Regions from separate parts of the Homo sapiens genome. Here region 2 is linked to region 1. Evidence: promoter capture Hi-C in human tissues and cell types (Jung and others, 2019). All regions are on one chromosome and are shown on one strand. Each heading gives the region's core, a stretch centred on a gene start or on the middle of the fragment in contact. The rest is flanking DNA. Distances are from core to core; before and after follow the strand shown. Region 1 holds the start of NSD1 (nuclear receptor binding SET domain protein 1). Region 2 holds the start of DBN1 (drebrin 1).

What was found. The method cuts DNA at HindIII sites, captures the fragments that hold promoters and counts their contacts. A contact is called where the count stands out against the background at its distance.
Region 2: a contact is called between the fragment with the promoter of DBN1 here and the fragment with the promoter of NSD1 in region 1, in 3 of the 25 tissues and cell types used here (dorsolateral prefrontal cortex, heart left ventricle and lymphoblastoid cells).

Annotation. Positions count from the first base shown.
Region 1 is chr5:177,131,383-177,135,582 of GRCh38, forward strand. NSD1 (nuclear receptor binding SET domain protein 1) reads left to right here and starts at 2,391. Exons shown (of 23, transcript NM_022455.5): 1 at 2,391-2,570; 2 at 3,705-4,200. The coding sequence starts at 3,722. RefSeq lists enhancers at 1,382-1,933, 1,426-1,720, 1,934-2,487, 2,488-3,039, 3,040-3,593 and 1 more and silencers at 1,757-2,426, 2,507-2,666, 2,727-3,026. The HindIII fragment of the contact is 15,853 bases long and covers 1-4,200 here.
Region 2 is chr5:177,470,984-177,475,412 of GRCh38, forward strand. DBN1 (drebrin 1) reads right to left here and starts at 2,651. Exons shown (of 15, transcript NM_001363541.2): 1 at 2,453-2,651. The coding sequence starts at 2,538. RefSeq lists enhancers at 1,509-2,012, 2,013-2,514 and silencers at 1,663-1,849, 1,769-2,138, 2,169-2,368, 2,449-2,828, 2,839-2,888. The HindIII fragment of the contact is 16,715 bases long and covers 1-4,429 here.

The DNA.
Region 1 (4,200 bases), core at 1,141-3,640:
GCCTCCCTGAGGTCACAGCCCTCTCATCAGTCCCGTTCCAGTGGGCACTTTCCCTCTAACAAAGCCCACTTGCTGTCTTGGCAGGGTCTGCATCCGGCACTTGCAGACATGTGCTAAGGGCCTGTTGACTTGGGAGCCTCCATCACTGGACTGTGGGCCTTGGAGAGCAAAAGGGTAAGAGCATCTCGAGCTCCACGCCTGCTGGGCCAGTCGCTGGCTGAAGGCAGGGGAAGGATGGAGTTTAGCTGGCCAGCACTAATGTCACACAGGGCAACGCCAAAAATGGCCTTTCTCCCAGGTGGGCTCAAAGTTAACAGAAGGCAGTGAGTAAACAGTCCACTGGGGCAATAACTATGCACATTTACTAAGCCATGGGAAGAATAGTAGTCACGTGGCCCTCGAGGGCGGTGCCCTCAGCTTGAGATGGAGTTAACTCCAAATCTAATCACAGAAGGCTTTCTGGAGGAGGCGGAATTTTTATGGCGGCCGGATCCGGCTTTCTCTGAACAGCGAGAAGGCGCTTAGCGCCCTAGGGACCAGGTAACTCCTGAGGTGAGCTTCTTGGTGGGGATCAAGCCCAGGGGGCGACGGAGTCCGGGCTGGGGGAAGGGCCCGAGGGGCTGGAGTCGCAAGTTCAGGCCCAGCTTGGGCTCCCTGTCCCGCCCTTCCGCTGTCTTGGGGGATTGGACGCCACGCGGTCGTGCTAGATTCGGTGCTGCGGGCCCGGTGCAGGATGCAGGCCGTGAGGCCCCAGGCCGAGGGCTGCGCCAGCGGGCTTGTCCCGGCCAGCCGGGCGGTCCCGTGTCCCGGCGCAGCTCCGCTGGGGTCCAGATGCCCGGCCCTCAGGGGCGAGGCGCGCACTCCCCGGGGAACCGGGCTGCGGAGCAGGCGGCCCGCTCTGGGCGGCGGTGGCACGAGAGGGCCATCTGCCTGGGTGCCGAGAACTGCAGCGTCCGCGGTGCGAGGCGCGGCCCGTCCCGTCCCGGCCCCCAGCCCGGCGCGCACGCACATACCCACGCCGGCCGGCGCCCGCTGCCCGAGCCCCCGTGCCAGGCCCAGACCTTGACTAGGCGCGGGAGGCGGTGCAGGGACTAGAGGACCCCCTCCCCCGGCGTTCCCCTCGCCCCGCCCGAGGCTGCGAGGACCCCTGGGCTCGGGGGTGGTGAGGGAGCTTCGTCCCGGCTGGGCCCGGGCTGGGGACTCGGCCTCCCTGGGCGGGGGCCGCACGGCTGCAGGCCGAGGTGCGGACGCGCTGTCAGGCTGCAGCCCGGCTCGGTGCCGGGGGTGGGCTCAGCGCTGGGGTCGCCTGGCTTCGTTCCCCCGCGGAGGCCACGGCCGGGCGAGCAGTGCCGGGGCGGGTAACCCGACCCGGCTCCCCAGAGCCGCTCACCCCGCACGGCCCGGCAAGGGGAGGGAGAGGGATGGGGGGAGGGGGAAGGGAAGGGGTGGTGGGTGAGGGGCTGTGGGCACCGCAGGGCCGAGTCCCCGGCCCGTCTGCGCTGCTGTAGGGCGGCTGCCCGCGGCACCCGGGACGATCCAGCCTCTGCCTCGCGGGCGTCGAGCCTGAGACAGGAGGGAGCCCTGGGGCTGCACAGGCTTGGCTCAGGGAGGCAGACCCGAGCTGCTGCCTCCATTTTGTTTCCTGCTCAGCTTGGTCTGTGGTGGTGGTGGTGGTGGTGGTGTGGGTTTGGGGTGCGGCCGGGTAGGGGGTTCGCCTGCGGCCGCGTCTGCTCGGGGCCTGAGGCCTCGAAGACCCCAGCCCAAGCCCCCAGGTGAGCCCTGCGGCAGGAGGGGGGTTGCCTTGGCCTCGGGCCGAACCCAGCGGGCTGAGGGCAGGTGCCCAGTGGATGGGGAGCCTGGGCTGTAACCTAAGATGGAGGCCGGGACTGACGCGGGCCCGAGCAGGGCTGGCGGGACGATCGGACAGGCCTCAGCCGCGCCAGGTGCCGCCTGGGTTGGGGTTCGAGACGCGTAGGGTGCGGGAGCCGTGTGCGGCCCGAGGCCAGCGCCGTGCCCCGAGGTAGGTGAGGGGATCGGAATGCCACCCACGACGCCCGCAGGCCCCGACACTCCAAGGAGGCGCGCGAGGCCCCTGGGGAGCCCGCCTCAGGCCCCGCCCGGGCAGCCGGGCCGGCCCGTAGGCCCCGGCCGCGAGCGGGCGCGCAGGGGGAGGGGAGGGGGCGGCAGCGGCAGCTCCGCTGATTGGGCGGCGCTCTCACAAGCCCGACTTCACCCGCCCTGAACCCCGAAGAGTGAGAGAAGGGAACGCGCGCGCTCGGTGGGGGAAGGGGTGCGCGCGCACTCGGGGCCCAGCCGCACGCGGGCCGGCGCGAGGCGCTCGGTCGCACGCGCGGCCGCGGGGGCGCGCGCGGTGGGGGTGTGAGGAGGAGGAGGCGGCGGCGGAATAGGCCGGGGCAGGTCGCGCTCGCTGCCTTCTCCCCTGAAGAGAGACGCGGGGGGAGGGGGGTGCGGCGAGCGGCCCCGCTCTCTCCCCACCGCTCCGCTCGCACCCCAGTGTAATGAGGGTCACCCCCTCCCCCCAGCTGGCCCGGGAGGGGGCGCGGGGCACGGTAACTAGTGCGCTGGGGTGGGCGGCGGGCAGGCGCGAGGAGAAGGGAGGGAGGAGGGTGGCCGGGCGGGGAAGATGGTGGTGGCCGTAAGGTGAGGGGCTCGGGGGAGGGCCAGGCGCGATGCGGGGTTGGTGGCCGGCGGCGCTGCAGCCGCCGGCCTCCTCCCCCTCCCCCTCCTCCATCACTACCAGCCGGGCTCAGGCCTAGCTGGCCGGGCTGCCGCGAACTTCCTCCCGGCGCGGCCCGTGCCCCGCCGGCCGCCTGCGAACACCTCGGCCTCCGCCTCCCCTCAGGTAGCAGGCTGCGGGGCGCGGGGCCGGCTGCCCTCCCGCAGCAAACTTTGCTTGCTGCTGAATATTGATGAGAGCGATCGGCTCGGCTGGGAGGTGCTGCCGCGGCTGCGGGAAGGAGCGCGGCCCGGGCAGGCGGCGGCGGCGTCGGCAGCAGCCATGTTTTTCGAGCTGTAGCAGCTGCTGCTACCCTGACTGGGCTTCGCTGGCCGCCTCGGTTTCTCCCTCTGCCGGGTCCAGGCCTCTTCGCCCTGCAGCTGCGGATCCAGCAGGCCTGCATTCAGGAAGGCGAGCTCTGGGGTGCAGCCGCCTCGGCCGGCTCGCCTGCGGCCTGCGCACCGCCGCTGCAAAGGCTCCGGCGCTGGCTGGGCGCAGGGTGCAGCGCTATTGTGACCGCTGCGCCCTAGCGAGCCAGGAAGGGGGGGGTACCTTTTTGTGCAGGGTCCAGGAGCCCCCCTCGGACCCCGCAGCCTTTTGCTTTTGAGAGATCCAGCTGCTCGACCCCTGGCGAGGGAGGGGGAGGACTAGTCCTGTTTGAGAATTGGGAATTTTGACGGGCAGAGGGGTTTTAATTTTAGTTCATCCCAAGTGTCCACCAGTCTACAGAGGAGGAAAAAGAGACGGGCTGTTTCTATGTAGCAGGATCGGCCCAGCTTCGGGAAAATGGAGTTTTCAGAGGCTCATCGAGGCCATTTTTTCATCTCCAGTCGGGGGAACTTTTTCTGCCCATGGAAGTGCAGCAGAAAGGCATAGAGGCCACTAGGCCTTGAAGTGGCTGCCATTTTAAAGAGTCGAGTCAGATGGCCTATTAACTCAGATTAATTGCTGTGCTTTTGGATTCCAGGTTGATGCCGGCCCAGGATGGATCAGACCTGTGAACTACCCAGAAGAAATTGTCTGCTGCCCTTTTCCAATCCAGTGAATTTAGATGCCCCTGAAGACAAGGACAGCCCTTTCGGTAATGGTCAATCCAATTTTTCTGAGCCACTTAATGGGTGTACTATGCAGTTATCGACTGTCAGTGGAACATCCCAAAATGCTTATGGACAAGATTCTCCATCTTGTTACATTCCACTGCGGAGACTACAGGATTTGGCCTCCATGATCAATGTAGAGTATTTAAATGGGTCTGCTGATGGATCAGAATCCTTTCAAGACCCTGAAAAAAGTGATTCAAGAGCTCAGACGCCAATTGTTTGCACTTCCTTGAGTCCTGGTGGTCCTACAGCACTTGCTATGAAACAGGAACCCTCTTGTAATAACTCCCCTGAACTCCAGGTAAAAGTAACAAAGACTATCAAGAATGGCTTTCTGCACTTTGAGAATTTTACTTGTGTGGA
Region 2 (4,429 bases), core at 1,401-3,900, 340 kb after region 1:
CAATCAGCACATCCTGCTCTCTGGGTCCTGGGGTCCAGCACACCGCATACCAGAAGTATGTGTGATATTGACACCAACTCAAAAGCCATCTAGCCAGATAAACTGAACTAGCGTGAGGTGGGAGCTGGAATGTGGCAGTTCCAGAGACCCTGGGGTGAGCTGGGATGGGGGGTGAGCTGGGGTGGAGGGTGAGCTGGAGTCGGGGGCTGAGGGCAGGTGGACCCCGCAGGACCATCACTCTCAGGATGGTGGTGCTAGAAAGGCCTTCAGTATCCGAGGTAGTGCTGGGCCCAATCCCTTTTCTTTCCAAGAGGACCAGGAACTTGTGTATGATCACAGTGAGTCATATCACAACCAGGACAACAGTGGCCCTTCCCACCACACAACCTCATTTCCTGGGTCCCCTGCTCCCTGTGCCAGAGTAGTGGTGCACTTCAGAGGCCCTGCCACCTAGGAGTGAACTCCCCCAACCACCCCTCCCCATTGGAGGCAAGGTAAGGGTCGGGGGGCAGACAGCAATTTACCCAAGACACCCCTCCCTCTGGACCTATGTGCAGGGTCTGCCTCTGAGTCTTCAGACCTCACTGCACCCCTGGTTCCATGCTGGGCCCTGGGGTATTCATATTCTCTTGTGTAGAAAGTGATCCTCACACCCCTTTTTCAAAATGTTATCTGGGCCCTTAGTGAACGAATGTGTGCATGTGCGAGGGTACATGTGTGCATCTGTGTGTGTCCCACACACAACCCAGATGGGGGCTGACGCACACCAGTGATGAATAACTCGCTTTGGCCACACGGATGCTGCTGGGGTGGGTGGGGGCAGGCCTGTGTTGAGCAGGATGTGGGGCAACAGGGGTTGTGTGGCCTTGGCAATAGGCCACCAGAGCTCTGCTTTTAGGAGAAAATGGGGTGTTGGTAGACAACACCCCTCCAGGCTGGAGGGCAAAGGAGGTGTTCTGGGGTGAGCTGTGCTTCTCCCCAGGCGGGGCCTTATCCCAAAGCCAGCTCCTTCACCAGGCCAAGCCGGCCACTTGCCCAGAGCTCCTCCCATGATCTCAGCCCCCCTGGGGCAGGGCTGGGACAATGGGTGGGCCGCCTGCCTGCTGAGCCTGTGCCGGCCTCTCCTGTGACTGACCTGCAGGACACGAGAGCTTGTCTCTCGCGTCCATCCCTCCAGGCCTGGCTGCTGGCCAGTGCTGCAGTACCATGCCATGGATGCCCAGCCATCTCATCCTCTCCTCCAGAAGCCCCCAGGTCAGAGTCCCCACCTGGCTGCCCTCCCAGTGTGCGGGTGAGGCCAGCCCAAGCGGGGTCCCTCAGACCTGCCCTCCTCTTTGCCTCAGTTTCCTCAAGAAGAACCTGTTCCCATCTGCCAGCAGGGAGAGGAGGCCTAGGAACCAGATGGGCACCTTCCCTAGAAGAAGAGTATTACGGGGGGGTTAAAGGATTCCAGGATGGGGCTGTGAGGAACCCCTCGGTTTCCTTTTTCCACCACCCTGGGCCGCCAGCCCCAGAGCAGGTGGTCCATCCCCTCCCCCAGCTCAGCGGGAGACAACAGCTGGGGGGCGGGGTGAGGGGCGGCCCAGCTCCTCCCCCATCAGGGACCGAGTGCCCCTTGCTGGGGGCCGGTGGATCTGTTCACCCCTTCAGCCGTCTTTGGGGGCTCCCTCCACACTTGTTCTCCAGAGGGCTTCCTCCCAGGGATCTCAGCTGGCCCCTTAGGCAGCTCGGTGCCCCCCAGCCCAGCTGCCTAGTCCCCGCAGTCCCCTTCAGGTAGGGGAGGAGAGCTCACCCCTGCCTCCTCCGCGACCCGCGGCGGTAAGGGAGTCACTTCGCGGTCGCCATGTGGCAGCAAACATCCTTCCACCTCACTCCAGCCCAGGTTTCGGGGGGAGGGCGGCCCACTCCGAGAGGCCCCCCGGTGGGCGGGGCGCCCGGCCCCCAGCCCGCTCCGCTCCTCCCCCGCCCTCGCTTTCCTTTGTGCTGTGGCCGGGCCGGGCTGAGCCGGGCAGGCTGCGCTGGCTCCGCTAGCTCGGTCCCCGCCCCGTCCCCGCCCGGACCTCGCCCGCTCGAAGGTGGCGAAGGTGCCCTTGGCCGCCCCGTGCACACCTGTCCCCCGGGCCCGGGGGGTAGGGTGGGGGATGGGCTCCCGCAGGGCCACGCGGCCCCGGGCCCCACATCGGGACCCCGCGCCTCCGGGCCGCGTCCGGCCGCCGCTCCCACCGCGCGCCTTGGGCCGCCTCCGGGCGCTCGGGGCCCGGCAGTGCCCCGCCTGGCCCGCCGGCCCCTCCCCCGGCGCGCACAAAGGCAGCCCCTCCCGGCCCTCCCGGCCCGCTGCACCATTTCGGGGTCCCCCTCCCTTCCCGGCGGCGGGGCGGCGGGGCGGGAGAGAAACAAAGGCGCGGCGGCGGCGCGGGGACAAAGGGGCCGGGGGCGGGGGCGGGGGGCTCACCAGTCGGCCGCGCTCTCCTCTCGGATCACCTCCTCGTAAGCCGCCAGCAGCTCCAGGCGGTGGCCGCTGAAGCTGACGCCGGCCATGCTTCGGGCCGGACCGGGCCGAACGGACAGACGCGCGGACGGACGGGCGGACGGAGGAGGAGGGAGGGAAAGAGGGAGTCGCCGCCGCCGCCTCGGAGCCTCTGCAGCGTCGCGAGCCGAGCGAGCCAGCGGCCGGGGGAGGGGAGCCGGCCGGCGGGGGGCGGGGGGCGCTGGCTCCGCCCGGCTCGCTCCCTCCGCTCGCTCGGTCCTAGCGCCGCCCCGGCCCGGCCCAGGGGGAGGCCCGCCCCCCCTTCCCGGCCTGCCCCGGGCGCCCCTCACCCACCGCCCCTGCGCGCCGCTCCAGGGCCAGCCCCACCCACGTCCCGAACCCTCACCTGCCCCGTCCGTAACCTCGGCGCTAGCCCTCCTTCCAGCCCCGAACCCAGTCCCGTCCCCACCTCCCCCCGCCCACCCCCCGTCCCAATCCGGTTCCGCCCCACCCATTGCTTCATTGATCTCCATTCCTGGTGCGTCCCACCTCATGTTAAACCCATTTTCATCCCAACCCAGCTCACACAACACCCCACCCCTGGCCCGTCTCCTTTCCCTGAGAGGTCCTTGCCTAGTCTATCCCATCATATCCACTGTCATCTGCATCCCACCCTCAAATCCACCCCAGTTGCTTTCCCATCCCAGCTTCAGCCCCATGCTTAGCACGTGTCCCCCCCAACATGTGTCACGGCACATCTTCAGTCCAACCCATCCCAGTCTCATCCTGATCCCAGTTCCCAATTCCCAACCACAGCCCCCCATCTCGGCTCCATGACCACTTATTCCAGGCCATTCTCAGCCCCTACCCAGCTCATTATCCCTCCATTCCAGGCCTCTCCTCCCCTCCACGCCTGTGCCCTCTCAGATGGGGCCAGCTAGGAGATCCTTTGCATTCTCTCTCAAGCCTCACGCCTCCCAGAGGAGTCCCAAGTAGAGTTCCGGAAGCAGCATCTAACCCCAGACTCCCACGGCAGGGCTCCTCCAAGGACGCTCAGGGCCAGCCTCTTGGCACCTTTATCTCCTAAAGCTCTAAGCACAGAACGGGAGGGGGCCTCAGAAAAGTACCCCCTGCAAGGGAGTGGACACCATGCCAGGGCCTTCCAGAACTCCGTTCCTTGCTAGGTTGGGACCCTGAAACCGTCCACAGCGCTTAGAAGCCTTTTCCACCACTACAAAGCCTCCAACCTCGACCTCCCTGAGCAAACTTCACCTGGTCCCAACCGCACCGCGGAGGAGGAGGTGGTTCTAGCCAGGCCTCCGAGTTCTGCGTTGGGTAATTGGCTATGCCAAGAGAAGGAGAGCAGGGCTGCCTATGTGGCAGTGTTCCTGGCGCTTTGGAGTTGGGAGAACCCTCTTAAAACTCAAAATACTCACAGGCCCCTGCCTTGGGAAGTCAGTGCCCACTATGTCTAGGGACCACAGGCCATGGCAATTTCTCCATGGCCACCACTAGAGTGAGGCACCCAGGCAGGGACACAGCCAGGCCCTGTGCCCTAGACCAACTGGCCAGTAGGTGTGGTTGGCCTGCCATGGGGATCCCTAAGGGAGTGGGTGACACATGGTGGGGAAGGGAAGTGGGGAGAGCCATGGAGGGACAGAGCTTCAGCCATCCCCCACCCTTAGGCATGAAGAGCCTGATTCTGGTGAGGAGGGAGACCCTGCAGCCGGGGAGGGGCAGCAGATGGCTGGCCATGAGCATCTGTGGCCTCAGCCTCTTCCAGCTTCCTTTGATTTGTCCTAGCTCACAGCTCCTCGCCCCCCCCGCTCCCCTCACCCCCCAGCCTCCTGCACACTCAATTTTGCATCCAAAAAACAGAAGCCCTAAATGCATCTAAGCTCTTCCTTCCTCAAATTCCTGCCTCCCCACCAGCCACCTACAAACTCTCCAGCCACGCCCACT